Linked DNA regions of Homo sapiens: region 2 is linked to region 1. The links are contacts of gene promoters, found by promoter capture Hi-C in blood cells and fetal thymus (Javierre and others, 2016). All regions are on one chromosome and are shown on one strand. Each heading gives the region's core, a stretch centred on a gene start or on the middle of the fragment in contact. The rest is flanking DNA. Distances are from core to core; before and after follow the strand shown.

What was found. The method cuts DNA at HindIII sites, captures the fragments that hold promoters and counts their contacts. A CHiCAGO score of 5 or more calls a contact.
Region 2: a contact is called between a fragment that was not itself captured here and the fragment with the promoter of INPP5A in region 1, in 1 of 17 cell types (fetal thymus). The highest score is 5.0, in fetal thymus.

Annotation. Positions count from the first base shown.
Region 1 is chr10:132,535,136-132,543,022 of GRCh38, reverse strand. It overlaps INPP5A (inositol polyphosphate-5-phosphatase A), which reads right to left and starts at 5,236. Exons shown (of 16, transcript NM_005539.5): 1 at 4,852-5,236. The coding sequence starts at 4,926. It overlaps LOC107984282 (a long non-coding RNA gene), which reads left to right and starts at 6,100. Exons shown (of 4, transcript NR_158224.1): 1 at 6,100-6,297. RefSeq lists enhancers at 1,150-1,279, 1,290-1,449, 1,210-1,744, 1,745-2,279, 4,286-4,335 and a silencer at 5,116-6,215. The HindIII fragment of the contact is 3,408 bases long and covers 2,867-6,274 here.
Region 2 is chr10:129,461,849-129,469,735 of GRCh38, reverse strand. MGMT (O-6-methylguanine-DNA methyltransferase) reads right to left here and starts at 2,495. Exons shown (of 5, transcript NM_002412.5): 1 at 2,440-2,495. RefSeq lists silencers at 2,196-2,395, 2,416-2,855 and an enhancer at 1,707-2,629. The HindIII fragment of the contact is 635 bases long and covers 1,451-2,085 here.

The sequences.
Region 1 (7,887 bases), core at 3,987-6,486:
AGTCTGGGCAACACAGCAAGACCCCATCTCTACAAAAAATAAAAATAAAAAAATCAGCTGGGTGTGGTAGCGTGCACCTGTGGTCCCAGCTACTTAGAAGGCTGAGGCAGGAGGATGGCTTCAGCTCACTTCAGCCCAGGAGTTCAAGGCTACAGTGAGCCACCGCACTCCAGCCTGGGTGACAGAATGAGACCCTGTGTGAAAACAAAAAAGAAAAGGAAAAAGAAATGGGTGAGGGGCATGGTGTGCGAATTCTGTCCCAGCACAGCCATTACCAAGTGAAACGTCCCTGAAGAAGAAGGAGGATCCACAGAGGGAGCAAAAATTCTGGCTAGTCACTGCCAGCTGGGTACAACCCGCACCCAGCCCTGGGCCCTGCTGTGCAGGAGTGCTGGGGCAGAGGCCTGGAGAAGGACATGGAGGGGAGACCCCCCCACCCCACTCGAGGGCTGCCACGGTAGAGAGTCAGGATGCCCCGCAGTGGCTGGAGGAAACATGGAGTTCAGAGTTTTCAAGGTGGGAGAGAGGGCAGTACCTTTGGTGTTGCCAGGAACCACATGGCAAAGAAGGCAATGCTGATGCTACCAGAGAGAGACGCCAGCCTGCACCACTGACCATCACCGACTCCATACCCACAGCAGCTCCGCCACCTCCACGCTCTTCCAGGGCTCTTCAACACCTGCTGACTGCAAGGTGCTCAGGTCCCTGCCAGCGAGCACTTGCCGAGCCCACTCTCACAGCCGTTCTGCAAACCCGGGTCTGGGCAGAGGGACAGGGCTGCCCGGGAGCTGACTAAGCAAAAAGGCAAACTGGCTCAGAACTGACTTAGCTGCGAACAAGCAGCAGGAAGGGCCACCAGGCAGATACCCGCCAGCGGGCTGTGTTCTCAGGACCAAACAGCAGCCTGACCATGCAAGGGTGGGACGCCACAGCTGGCAAGAATTCACCTCCTCAATTCCCTTCTCATAAAAATGGAAGGAACCAAAAGCCAGAAACCTCACTTGTCAAAAAACCAGCCACATCAAAGCAAAACAATTAAATATGGACCCCTGGTCACCTCTTTCCAAGCAAACCAGTAGTGACAGCAGGAGTCCAATCCAGGAATTAAAGACCAGCTGCAGGGCTCACCGAGGGTGATCTGGCAGTCTGCATAAGCCTGGGAAAGTCCCAGGCACCCCAGCCACCTGGCCAGAGACAGGGGTGCCCATGACAGTATGGGGAGGGAGGACTGGGCTGAGGAGGCCTTTTCACAGGTTGACTAGGTCAACACTATTTCCATAATACTACAAAATGACTCCTCTTTCCATTCTCACTGTCTCCTAGGGAAGAACGGCCAACACCTGAGGGGGTGCCTGTGATGTGGGATGATGTAATCGCTCTGCCAGCTAGTGCAGTGAGCTATGTATTCTCATGCAGTCTCAGCTCCCAATATGAGAAATATTGGTAGTTATAACCAACATAAACAAGAACTCTTTCGGGTCCTCCATAATTTCTAGGAAAGTGAGGGATAAGGGCTTGGGGACCGGTACACTGTAAGGCATTTACCGCAACACTGTCTGCACAGGGTCAGACACAACCCCAGTGGGGACAGCCCCGCAGCCCGCAGCATGGCCAATCTGGGGTCACAAAGATGGAGTAGTGATGAGCAAACAGGGGCTGCTGAGTGAGATTCCGTGTGGATCCCAGGATGCTACAAACCACAGCTGAAGTGGATGCACGCAGCGTTTTGAGAGGGGTGACCTCTGGACCAGGGACAGTGGCTCACACCTGTAATCCCAGCACTTTGGGAAGCCGAGGCAGGTGGATTGCTTGGGCCCAGGAGTTCCAGACCAGCCCGGACAACACGGCGAAACCTGGTCTCTACAAAAATTAGCTAGGCATGGTGGCATGTGCCTGTGGTCCCAGCTACTTAGGATGCTGAGGTTCACCTGAGTCAGGGCGGTCGAGGCTGCAGTGAGTTGTGACCGCACCACTACAGCACTCTAGCCTGGGCGACAGAATGAGACCCTGTCTAAAACAAAAACAAGAGGGGGAGGAGGAGGGGCCTTAAGAGGGGAGACTTTCAAAACTGCAAAAGCAAAAGCAAACCACCTATCACTTGTGCACAAAAGGAAAACAGAGTCCGCCACAGTCCGGGATATCTGCTTCAGATTCAAACACCTTCCTCCTCGGAACTGTGACCGGCTCCAGCACTGGTCACAGACGAGCTTGGCTTCCAACACGGTGAGACTGGGCGAGAAAGATTCCTTCACAGCCTGAGCACTGCCTGCAGGGTGCGTTCGTCAGCACGGGACGGGCTGCACAAAGGCAAACAGAATCTCAAAGCAGGTCCCCTGAAATCCAGGACAAACCAAGAAACCAAAACTTCCTTCACTCATGAATTTCCTTCCACCGGCCAGGCTTCTGGCCCACAAGTACCACACCCCAAACCTCAACCAAGGAAGGGGGCCTGGGAATGTGAGTGCCTGGCTGGTTTCCACTGAAGGAGACTGGGTCTGGCCCCCGGGGACTGAGCTGCACACATTAAGAAATCTTCAGACACGGACAGATAAGTTTCCACTCAGCCCTGAAATCACAATGCACCTTTCAGAATTAACCTATGTACTGTTGACCTAAACAAATGTTCCTTCTAAACATAAACATAATGCAAAATTCCACATAGCCTTTAAGAAAAATGAAAATTCAGAGAGAATAGGTTGCTAAACAAAAGTGAATTAAGTTACCCAATTTAATATCAACAGAGATAAATACGTGTATACAATTGAAACACAACAAAAATGCTAGAACTCAGAATCAAAGATTACTGGAAAGAATGTCTGCACAGTAAAACTCGTTTCCCTTTGAGACTAAAATGCCCCAGCAAGCTTAATGCTCCTGACATTTCTGAGGCTTTGAAGCCGCAGCTAACGGATCTGAATCATCTGAACAAAACCATGCTATAGTGACATGTTACTGGAAAGCCTAGAATAGAACGCCAAATATACAGACACACACCCATGCCAGGCACTTTTGTAGAAAATGATCAAACATAAACCTAGATGAAGTTGTTAATAATAAAGTGTGAGGAAAACCAGTTCCTCCCCAGCAGGTCAGTATAATACATGGGCACCTGGAAGTTAAAATAAGAAAAACAGAAAAACAGCGCCTTTTGTTAATAAAAACCAAACCTAGCCTGTGCATGAACTGAGCTTCATCAAACACTTCACCCATGCTTGCTGCCAGCAAAGACACAAGACCTCCTCCTGAAATGGAAACCACGCGTGCATCAGTGGCACACATCCGTCATAAAGCTGGTGCGGTGCCCCACTGTTCACCTAGGGAGGGAGGGAGGGAGGGAGGGAGCGTCCGTGGCTCCACGGCCTCCATCTGGGCCACTTGGAGCCTCACTCTGCTTTATTTGGGTTGGCAGCAGGAGTACCAACAGCAGGGTGGCACCGTGGCTGAAACGCCAAACTAGGTCAGACCGGCCTGCCTCTGGGGAGCTCCCAGTGCGCCCTGGGCCTCAGCTCCCTGGTCTCTCCAGAGATGGGGGCACCCTGGGATCCTGGGTGGGAATGAGGCTTGGGTGGGAGGGGCCCTAGAAGGTAAAGGCCATAGGCAGTCAGCATCCCCTTTCTGGCCCTGAAGAGCTTCTCAGCATCTTTTTCTTCAATAAACAAGAAATATAAAGTCCTACAGTGCTTTACAGACTTCCCTTATTTACGAACTAAAGAGATACTAAGTGGCAGGGTTAAATGGGGGCACCCTACCCTCTGGCCCTGCAGGGACAGACAGACAGTGAGGCCGGCACCCAGGCATCCAGGAGCTGGGGCTGACAGCCAGAGTGGAGGGCCTAGGCTCAGAGGACAGGGGCCAGGGGTGGGAGTCAAGGGTTAGGGTTTGGGAATTCTGCAGGCTCAAGGCCCAGGCTTTAAGACCAGGATTCAGGATTCAGGATTCAGGGGCAGGAGCTTGTTGGAGGAAGGGGCCAAGGATGGGATCTAGGAACCAGAGTTAGGGGCAGGGTCCAGAATTGGGTTTGGGGCCTGATTCTGGAACCAGGGTTCCAGGTTCAGGGGTCAAGGACAAGTGTTCAGGGCCATAAGCTGGGGCCTGAGGTTGAAATTCAGGGTTCAGAGTCAGGCTAGATTGGCTTTAGAGGCAAAGGGCCACAGTATGAAGGCTGGGATTCTAGGGCTAGAATTCAGTGATTGGGGAACAGGGACAGGAGGTTGGGGCCACAGCCCTGTGTCAGAAGTTCCTGGGTTAGGGTTTGTGGTTATGTTTCAGGGTTTGGGGTCCAGGGCTCAGGGACCAGAGACAGACGTTTGAGAGCAGGTTCTGTAACCAGAGTTCTGCAGTCAGGATTTGTGGTTCCAGTGACCATGGACCTGGGGTTCAGGGCCAGGGTTGGGGATGGGCATTCCAGGGCCAGGGTTCTGAGGATTCGGAAATCAGGGCTGGGGCTGGGTTTGGTGCGCACAGACCCGGTTTCTGGGGTTTGGGTTCCAGGAACTGTTAACAGGGGTTCTGACAGGGTTTTAATATTGGAGTTTCGAGGTCAGGATTTGCAGACAGGAGTTCAGAGGCAGGGTCCCAGGGTCAACGGTCAGCTGCTGGAGTCTGGAGGATGGGGTTCGGGGATTCAGGGCCCAGGTCTTCAGGTCTCGGGCTTGGGGATCAAGACAGGGGTCTGGGCTCCCAGACTTGGGAATCAGGACAGGAGTCTGGGGTCCCGGGTACAGGGATCAGAGTCTGGGGCCTCTGGGTCTGGAGGTTCACGGTCCAGGGTCCAAGGCTTGCAGTTCGGGACCCCGGGGTCAGGGTCGGGGGTTCCGGGCTTGGGGCCTGCCGCCGGCACGGGGGACTTACGTCGTCGAAGAGCGAGCCCACGTTGGCCGTGACCAGCAGCACCGCGGTGCCCGGGGCGGCCGCCTTCCCCGCCATGGTGCCCGGGCGGCGCGGGCGCTGGGCTGGGCGGCGGCGGCGGCGGCCGCTTCCTCCGGGACCGGCCGGCCGGGGTCTTCGCGGGGCCGCGGGGCGTCAGCTGCGCCGGGGGGCGGCCCCGGGGCGCATCGCGGGCTCGGCGGGTCGGCCGGGCCTGGCCGGGGCTCCGGCCTCGCGCTCGCTCGCTCGCTCGCTGCTCCGCGGCCCCGCGCCCGTCGCTCGCCGCCGCGCCTCACAGCGGCCCGCGCGCAGCCATTAGATCCGCTGGGAAAGTTCCCGCAGCCGCCGCCGACTCAGGCTGAGGGCAAGTCCCGCCCCGCGGAGCCGAGCCCGGGGCGGGGCCTGGGCGGGGCGGAGCCTGACTCGGGGTGGGGCCTGTGCGGGGTGGAGCCGGGCCTGGGGCGGAGCCTTGCTGGGGGCGGAGCCTTGAGGTGCGGAGCCTGAGTTGGGCCTAGATCTGAACAGAGTGGGGCGGGGCCTGCGGGGGGCGTGGCTTGTGCGGGACTTGGTGTCCTTGTGGAGGCGGGGCCTGCCCCGGGGCGGGGCCTCCTTTCGGGGCGGGGCCTACGCGGGGCGCTCTTGCGACCGGCGGCCTAGTACTGGTCGCTCCCGGAGGGCGCTCCTGTCAGTCAGGCCCGCAAGAACGCCGCGCCCCCGCCCCGCCCCCCGCGCCGCGGCTGCGCACAGACTCCGCCCTTCGCACTTCTATGACGTCACGGCCCTGCTCCGGCGGCGCCTCTTAAAGGGGCCCTGGGTTCCGGGCGCCGGCGGCGGGTGCGCTCTCTTGCGGCTCTGAGGGGATGTTCCAGCCCCCGCGCGGCCGCAGTCGTCCAGCCGCGTGCCGGGCGTGCGGGGGAGGGGAGCCCACCGGGGCGGCGGCAGTCGCGCCTGCAGGGGCCGGGCCACGCGCGCCCGGCTCTCCGCGCAGACGGAGCGTGGACCGTGCAGCTTCCCGGCGCGTCCACCCGGCTCCCTGGCCGCGACCTCACTCACGAGGAGCGGCTGCGGCCCAGAGAAGACGGAGGGGAGGCGGCGTGAGGCCAGGCGCATCCTGACGTCGCGGAGGGCTCCGGCCCGGGCCAGGCTGGGTCTCAGCGCGGGGCGTGCAGGGAACCCTCGCAGGGACGAAGGGGGCTCCAGGGGAGGGGGCTGGTGCGGGCCCAGGAGCGCAGAGCACGGAGGAGCAGCCGGCTCGGCGCGGGCCCCGGGGCAGCGATGCTGATCCTGGCCGCCGGAGGGGCCAGAGCATGGGCTGGACCCTGGGTCTGAGGCCGCGGGGACACAGCCGCCGTGAACCGGGACATGCCTGTAGATGGAGGAGGAGAACCACATTTGTCATCTTAAAGCTTCCAGTAGCTACATTTTTTAAAGGTAACAAGTAATAGCCAAAGTTAACAATACGTTTTACTTAACCCAATAGATAGATACATCATTCAACATGTAACCAGAATTTAACAACCTCAGTGAGATTCCTTCACAGGAAGGCTTTGCACGGGCACCTGCCTCTTGGCAGCAGCTCACAAGGCCGCTTCCAGTGCTCAGCAGCCCTGTGTGGCCAGTGGCCACCATGCGGAGCAGGCACTCCGGAGGATTTTGTGGACACAGATTTAGGGGCGGTCAGGGCCTGGCAATGGGCTCTAGCGAGGCTAGCCTCCAGCTTCTGAGTAAACCGCCAAGGCAATGCCCAATGACATCAAAAGGGGCTTGTTCTGTTCTAGGAAGACACCTGCTGCCAGGGCGGGGCGGCAGGAATGGTGCTGCAGGCTCGGGCCCCAGGCCTGTGCTGAGGCCGCATCACTGGCTTGTGTTAACACCCCCAGGGTTCCTCCTTACGGCCACCGCTGAGCAGGACTCCAGCAAAATCCATTTGATGTATAAACCAATGTCTACTTTAGTCAGTAGGTGCCTGCTACAGACTGAATTCCGCCCGCCCCACCCCACCCCACCCCGCAAATTCATGGGTTGAAGCCCTAACCTCCAATGTGACTGTATTCGGAGGTGGGCTAGCGGGGGTAATTAATGTTAAGTCGTGCAGTAGGGCTGGTGTTTAATGTTAAGTCGTGCAATAGGGCTAGTGTTTAATAGAAAGGGCTCAGTGCTGTCCCCACCCTTACATGTGCAAAAGAAGTGGCAGTGTGAGTGCACAGTGGGAAGCTTCACCCCAGCCAGCCACAAACCCTGCACCAGAAATCCAACGCTGCTGGAACTTGATCTTGGATTTCCAGCCCCCAGAACTGTGAGAAGTAAAAGTCTTGTTTCAGCCTCCCAGCCTGTGATATTTCGCTACAGCAGCTGAAGCTGACTGATGTAGTCGCTTATTTTTCTTTTTAACAAAATCAGCACATGCTAAGGGTACCCTTAGTAGAAACCAAATGTGGGGGTGTCACTGATCCCTGGAACGTGCTTTCTGAGAAGGGACATTGCCTCCTCACTTCTCCCCGCAGGCTGTGCCCTCACACCCGGCTGAGGCAGCGTCCCCCACCCCTTGTGCCCTCCCTGCTCCCCCCTCCTCCTCTCCTCGCCAGCCAGCTCCTGCCATGCCTGGACGTTGGCCTCTGCCCTTCCTCCAGGCAGCCACCTCCTCTTTCCCATGCACCCCTCACCCACCACAGGTTCAGCCCCTCACAGTTCTCCTGCCTCCTATATTCCGTGCTCATTACCAGAACCTCCAGAACCCAAGGGGGTGCGGCCTGGACCTCCCACTTCTGCATCCACGGCCCTGGGCATAGCCTGGATGTTCTCATCACCAATGACCACACCAAGGCCGAATCCAGGCACCTTGCCCTCCCCACCACCTCCTCTCCTTTGGTTTCACTTCCGTGGGACCTCATGGAAACCTACAGCCCATGCTGCTCCCATGCCTTCGTTAGCCACCGCCACACGTGCACACCCACACAGAAACACATGCACACGCATGCACTTGCACGCACACACATCTGCACATGCGCATGCACGAACATG
Region 2 (7,887 bases), core at 519-3,018, 3.1 Mb after region 1:
GACCTTGTCTCTAAAAATAATAAAATAATATTCTGCGGTAAGACCCCAGCTCTTTCAGAAAGTAGCTGCATTAAAAACTACTTGTCCCAGGAAACAGAGGGTCAGGAAGGACCGTAGCAACAGCCCAAGAGCCGAATGAGCACAGGGCCCTGCAGGGTCTGGGAGGCTCAATGTGTCCCCTGGAGGGACTAGAGTCCCAAACGGAAGTCAAAAATCTCAGGGCAAGTGGATCTGGACATGGAACTTTATGCTGGGGAAGGGGGTCAGAATGAAGTGCAGAAACAAGAATAATGCTAAAGGAAAAGATAATGCAGAAAATTCAGTTTTGCCTCCATTTTTTTTCTATCAAAGAGAATATACTGAAAAGAGCATTAGCACCAAAAAGAAAAATGGAAGGTCTGAATCACTGGCTCCTAAATGTGTGTCCTCTGCAAAACAGAACAGACAATTTAGTAACTTTATTTTATTATAAAATACTGAAAGAGTCAGGGTTTTGGTGTCCTAAGAAAGGGTGGGAAGAGGACTGGAGAGGAACAAACTCTGAGGGGGCAATGGGGAAGGCAAGTTCTTTTTCAGGCCCTTCCTACCCCCTTCTTCCCTGCAAAAGGACAGAGGAGGCCCTGATTGAGACACCTGGGGAGGAAACCCAAACAACGAAAAGTAAGGCCCAGGTGATATCAAAGTAAGACCTCAACAAGGTTCAAGAATCTGAGCAGCTGAACAAGGTGCTACCCAATGTATACCTAGGGCTCTATTTCTTTCAACCTTACTAACAGCAAAGCCTTTTTAAAGTAGTGCCTAATACTATTAGTTAAATCCTTATTTTGATACAGATTTTTTTGTTTCCCCTTCAGGACAGTTTCACTCTCGTCGCCCAGGTTGGAGTGCAATGGCGCAATCTCGGCTCACTGCAACCTCCGCCTCCCAGGTTCAAGCAATTCTCCTGCCTCAGTCTCCCAAGTAACTGGGATTACCAGCATGCACCACCACGCCTGGATAATTTTTGTGTTTTTAGTAGAAACTGGGTTTCACCATGTTGGCCAGGCTGGTCTCAAACTCCTGACTTCAGGTGATCCACCCACCTCGGCCTCCCAAAGTGCTGAGATTACAGGCGTGACCCACTGTGCCTGGCCCAGATTTTTTTTTTTTAATGAAGATATATACATTGAAAAGTACCTGAGTATAGCTCCGTACTGGTGGTCTACTTCATCCAGGCCCCTGACTGTGGCAGACACTACTCCACTATTCAAATTCCAACCCGAGACAGAGGGCCCAGGAAGAAAGACACGCGGCAGAGCAAGGCCAGCTCTCCTCTGCTACTTGCAGGCAGACTCCGGGTCTGGGCAAGTATCCTGGCCCTCTGAGTTAACGTGATATTAACAATCAGCCAGGCTCTTGACGCGGTTTCCTTCAAAGTTTTCACACCCCCACCCACCAGGTGCGCTAAGCTTTGGGTTTTTAAAATCTTGTTCATCTCCCAGAGTGTTTTAGCCATTGAGAGGGCCCTGAAAATAACAAAACCATCTCCTAGACACCTGCCCAGGGATGGGGGAGATGACGGGAGAGCCTGACTTAACAGATACTCTATAGGTTTCTATTTGGATGTCTATGTAAATAACCAGTCTAATTCTCAGCTCTCTGTGCTTAACATTCTACTGAGAACAGCTCTCTGGACCAAGCCGCTTCCCTGTCTGATGATGATCTCAGCAGGCATAGGTTGCACACACATGTACAAAGTCTGCTTTCCAGGACAGAAAGCCAGCTACTCAGCTGAAGCAACTGAGAGCAAACACCACCCTGAGATTTCAGGAGATGATGAACCCAGGAGTGCGAAATACATAGTTCAGAACTCCTCTGCGGTGTTATAACCGACATTACGGTGCCCAGTGTGTGTGGCTCTCCAGCGAGCCTTGCTTACTCTAAGTGTTGATGAATACAGTTAGGGTATGATGTACACAAACACCAGCCATAGTAACCAGAAGGCCCCTAGAACTTGGCCTCCAGCAGGAAGGAAATATGGGACTCTGCCTAAGTATGCTAAAGGGTTGCTGCAAGCCAAGGCCCGCGCAGGGGCTTCTGGAAGCTTCCTGGAGCAGCTGGCGGAGGGAAAGCTGGCAGCATGGAAGGGTAGGAAGAACCCGGGGCCCGGGCCTGGGGCTGGCACCTAGAGGTAAGGCAGGGGCTGCCACGACCCCCGCCACACGCCAGTCCACAGTCACTGCAGCGCAGCCTAGTCCAGGAACCCCAGGCCCGGGGAAAGGCTGGGCAACACCTGGGAGGCACTTGGGGCGCACCTGGAGCTCGCCCGGGATGGGTGGGGGTCAGGGCGGCCCCACACCCGACGGCGAAGTGAGGGCGCCTGCAGGACCACTCGAGGCTGCCACCGTCCCGAGGGAGAGCTCCGCACTCTTCCGGGAGCGAGGCGACCCAGACACTCACCAAGTCGCAAACGGTGCGCACCGCGAGGACCTGCGGGCGTCGGGACGCAAAGCGTTCTAGGGGCGCGGGCTGTCCCAGCATATCCGGGGCGCGGGGGCGGGGCCGAGGGGCACGGGGATGGCGGCGTGGGGCGGGGTCTAGAGCGGGGCGGAGCCGAGGACCTGAGAAAAGCAAGAGAGCGCGCGGGGGCGGGGCCGGGGCGCGCGGGGGCGGAGCTGGGGCGGAGCCCGGGAGGGGCGGGGTGTTCCCGCCCGACCGGGTCGGCGCATGCCCTGTGCGGCGGCGCCGGGCCTGAGGCAGTCTGCGCATCCTCGCTGGACGCCGGCACGCCGGCCCTGGTCCTCCGGCAGCGCCGCTGCCCTGTGCGCCTGACCCGGATGGCCCTTCGGCCGGTACAAGCCGGGCGGCGCCTTCCCAGCTTCCGCCTGAGGCTCTGTGCCTTAGTTTGCCAAATGGCCCGTACCTTTTCCTGTCACAGGGATAGTCCGCGGGCGTGCAAGCGACCTGCCACGTGCCCGAGTGGTCCTGAAAGCGCGCGGGGGTCGTAGGACGGCGCCCGCTTAGTGAGAATCCCGGTCCTGCTCGGGGCGGCTACGCTGAGCCCGGAGCGCGAGTCTCTCCCCTCCTGGTGCCGCTCCCCTAGTCAGGGACCCCCAGACCAGCAGAGACCCTGTCAGGGGGCCGTGGGGGCAGCCTCCAGGGCCTGTGGTGGGCGATGCCGTCCAGGGGCTGCAGTCACCGATGGCCTAGACACTGCCAGAGCCTGACTCAGCCGCTCTCCAGAGAGCACACAGGGTGCCAGGCCCTGCTTGGGGTTGTGTGGACGTTATTAGGAGTTGAATTGTGTCCACCAGAGAAGCTATGTTGGAGTCCTAACTCCCAGTACCTCACAATGTGACCTTATTTGGAGATGGGGACTTTACAGAAGCCATCAATTAGTGGGCCCCTCATCCAGTATGACTCGTGTCCTTATAGGCAGAAGGCCGCTTGGGGAGGAGGATTGGAGGGCTGCACCTGCAAGCCACCAGAAGCCTAAGAGGACAGACCCTTCCCTGGAGCCTTCGGAGGGAGCAGAGGACACTCTTCCCTGGAGCCTTCAGAGGGAGCAGGATCCTAACACACCTGGGTTTCAAACTTCTGGCCCCCGGAAGTGTGAGACAATAGGTTTCTGTTGTTTTAAGCCACTCAGTGTGTGGCACTTTATTATGGCAGCCCCAGGCAATGGGTACAGAAACCATTGTCTCTAACGTGGTTGGCATAAGCACCCCAGGGAGTAGTATCATCCCTGGAGGCTTCGGAGAGGTCACACACCCCTTGGCAGGATCCCATCCAAGGCCCACATGTTCTAAGCCACCATGCTACGGGCCTTCTAGGTTCTGTTTGTTATCTTAATGGAAAGGGGTCTTCACCTTCCCGGTGAAGTTTCCCTGTTGGGATTCGGCCAATGCTCATACCTTCGTATTTGTGACTTGCAGGATCCAACATATTAGCATGAGTGATAAGGGTTGTTCAGAGGAGAACTTCAGCAGGATTTGCTTTGGGATGAGCCCTGGTGACAATACAGGCTGCATCATTGATCCTCTGAGGTTCCCCACCCCGACCCTGCCTTGGATGAGACATGTTTTAAATAGCTGCTTGTGGGAAATAAACTAGGCCCTGAGTACACGATATAATGGTCAAATCAAGGCACTTTTTCCCCACTGAACCTGGACACAGCCTCGGAATCCTTCTCAACACTGTGTTCCAAGCAGCCATTCACATTTAAACTAATGTGGAAGGACAGATGAAACATGTTTGCCCTTGGCTCTGGTTTTTTCCATTAGCCTTCTATAAGACTTCGGGAAACTCGTCTGACTTCTCTAATCCTCAGTTTCATACTCTGTAAAGGAGTCTCATGATAACGTACCCTACGTGTGTACAAACTATCCTTCCATATTAGGGCATGTGTGCATAGGGAAAATAAACCACCAGCACCACACCACACTACTAAGAAATAATGCTATACACCTGGCCACTTACAGCCTGTTACTACCAGGACCCAGTTAGAACCGGGATCTTAATAGAACCAAAGGAAAAACAATGCCGAAATGGAATCAGAGTGCCGACTGATATTCTAACAAGTGTGCTGTTAAGTAGTTTTGCAGTTAACACATGACTCATACGTTTATCTGAATAATATTTTAAGACGAATCCCTAAACTCTTAAGAAAAAGAGACTGGCCAGTCTTAGCATCTCTAATTCCCCACCCTAGGAAAGAAAGGCCAATGTGGTCATCCAAAGGCCCTTTAGGAGGGCCCTGTGGGAATGGGGAGGCGGTCCACGAGAGAAAGTGCTGGCTTCCCAGGGAGATGTGTGGACCTGGCCCTGGCTGTACTGAAAGAACTCAGTCCCCTTGCTGGCGTGGTGGGAAGAACTATGTGAAGGGCCACAGCTACTTCAGTGGTAAGGACTGTGTCAGGGGCTCCAGGATCAGGAGCCAAATAAGGGTCTCAGTGCAGAGGGGAAAGAGGAAAAAGGCCACCACCTGACCAAGGACTGGCCTGCAAAAGACCAGGATTCAAGGATGTGACTGCTTAGGCTGTCTGATGAGCAGAACTCAAACTCACACTCCTTACACCTGCTGGTGCAAGCTCCTCCCTTCATCATGGTAATTTCAAAAACCCAAGTTTTCATCAAGAGCTCCCCACGCCTCTCCCCCTTGTCCCATTACAATCTCATCATCGCCTGTGTGTTCGTCCTACTGTTAAAGGAACACAGGATGGCTCCAAAGCCGGGAGGTCGCCGGGTCCACTGAAGAGTAAGGAACACAGGACAGGGAGGCTCGGATGTGGTGCCAGCCCTGCCCCTCACTGAGCAACCACCTGACTTCTCTGTTCATAGGATGACAGTGCAGGACTGGTTGGGTGAGATTCCTTTGAGGTCTCCCATCTTCAGATTAACAAATCACAACCCCTTTTCCTCCAGACACAGATTCCTATGAAGAACTTTTTACAAAAGAGGTGGGAAAACCACAAAAGGGTATGCTCAACTGCAGTCCGACTTCCTCAAGGAGCTCCCTGGATTTCCTTTAAGATCAGCCAGCTTTCTTGTGGGCACTGGGAACAATGTTAATCTGCATAGTTTCTTTAAACATCCAAATGGATACCTTTCGGGTTAAGCAAATGAACATGACATGCGATTGCTTCTAATGATTTGCAACCCAAGAAATTTGTTTAATAAGCCTGTCTTCCCAAGCTACTTTTGTGACATTAGAGACCACTTACAACAAAGCTGCCTTCAGTAGTCAAACTTAATCCTTACTACCCTACCTTTGGGAAATGAAGGGATTTTATAACGATCACATAAAACCTTATGTGGTTTGAAAGCCCCAAACTCCGGACAAATGTGTGATGGTCGTGTAACAAAAGAAACATATTACAGAGCTCCCCACGTTAAGTGTTTTACATATAGTTTGCTTTTAGGATAGCATCTCAAGTGGAGGGTTTTGCTGATTAACACAATTGATTTTCTTAGTCCCAGTGTTCCTGTAAATGTTGGAGCCAAGAGCTGGAGTCAGCGCCTTGGACCTGGGAGAGGCCAGGAGGCCAGGGAGCCTCAAGCACTCTGGAGGAAGAAGCCTGAAATGAAAAGGTGGGGGCCATCGGTACCGGGGTTGAATGCCAGGTGCTTCTGATTACGCTCCTGTGTGACACTAGTTGTCAGCATGGCAGAGGCATCATGGTGTAACTGCAGCAGGGAGTGTAATCTACTAGTGGGCAGGAGAGAGGGCGGGAAGGAGGGACTTCAGGCTTTGCCTCACATAGAGGGTAAGGGAATGGTGCAGGGTGGAGAAAGGGGATGGAGGTGCAACTAAAACAGGAGGGGCTCCTTAGCTCTTGCTTTCCTCCAAAGAGGCAGAACATCCTCCTGCCAGGAGCCCCTGGGAGCTCCTGTTGAGAACTGGAACCCTTCAGGCCCTTTTGTGTCAAGAAGGGCATGGAGGAGAATTCCTAAAGAAACGAACCAGAGGCAGCCCACAGACTCCTATTAGAAAGACTTTTCCTGAAACTTCCTTTGCCAGTTTGTGGGTGCAGGGCCTGGAGATGGATTTATGGGACTCGTTGCAGGCCCCTGTGGGGCTTGTAGTGGAATGGCACACAGATGAGGAAATAGTTTGCTCTCTGGAGCAGCGACCTCTACCCAGGAGATGCGTAGGGGCAGTGGGAGTACGAAAGAGGCCCTTTCCTGCACTGACTGTCCCTGCAGGAAGCCCTTTCTTTTTTTTCTTTTTTTTTTTTTTCTCTTTTTCTTTTTTTGAATTGGAGTCTCTCTCTGTCGCCTAGGCTGAAGTACAATGGTGCCATCTTGGCTCACTGGAACCTCTGCCTCCCGGGTTCAAGTGATTCTCCTGCCTCAGCCTCCTGAGTAGCTGGGATTACAGGTGCACACCACCATGCCCAGCTAATTTTTCTGTATTTTTAGTAGAGACGGGGTTTCACCATATTGGCCAGGCTGATCTTGAACACCTGACCTCAGGTGATCCACCCACCTCGGCCTACCAAAGTGTCAGGATTACAGGCGTGAGCCACCGTGCCCAGCCCAGCAAGCCCTTTTCAAGAGCCCCAGTGTGCAGTGTAGCCCCTCACAGAGAAAACAGGCTCAGCCAGGATATCTGCTGGGGTTGGAGGGGTGATGCAAGGAAAGACCTGCAAGAGAAAATGCATGGCACTGGATGTCTCAGGGGAGGAGAACCATGCAGGTAAAGAACCACAGCTATTTGTGGAATTTGGATCCAGTTGTCCAGTAACTGGTGGACAAAGATCATTGCAAACCTTATATAGCTCTTCCCTCCGAACTGTTCCAACTTTAGACAATTGACTATCAAAGGAATGTACATAATGTATGTAAACAAGCAAAGTCCGCTCATCAGATGTATGTATTTGGATACGTTGGCTTGAAGAACTACTCACACAAATGGAAGTGCTTTGGAGGACATTCCCACCCTGGAAGGGGCTATTTGAGTGTCTGTGACTCAGGACTGGGATTTTGTTTGATGTTGGCCCTTTTTAAACCAGCTCCTTCACTCATTACAAAGTGTTTTTGATCCATTTTCGGGAAGGGCTTTATTTGTAACACATGGTTGGCAGTTTGGGCAGAATCCTTTAAATGGTGTGAAGAGCTGGGGAGTGTGCACCTGGGTCACTAGAAGGAAGTGGGTCCCCCCCCTCCCCTGCCCCACTGGGATGAACCAGAAGTGCCCATGCTTTTGTGACTTGGAAATTAAAGCAAGAGACGTGGGGATTTCGATGCTGAGATTGTGATTTGCTGTCATTTGCTTCTGACTGGGAAACCACGAATGAAATTAAGACAAGAAAAACAGCCACACTAAGGGTTCTGTCTCAGTCACCAAAATACAAATTTAGAAAGGAAAAGTGGCTGCATTTCCTCCCAGGGTAACTGCTTCAAACC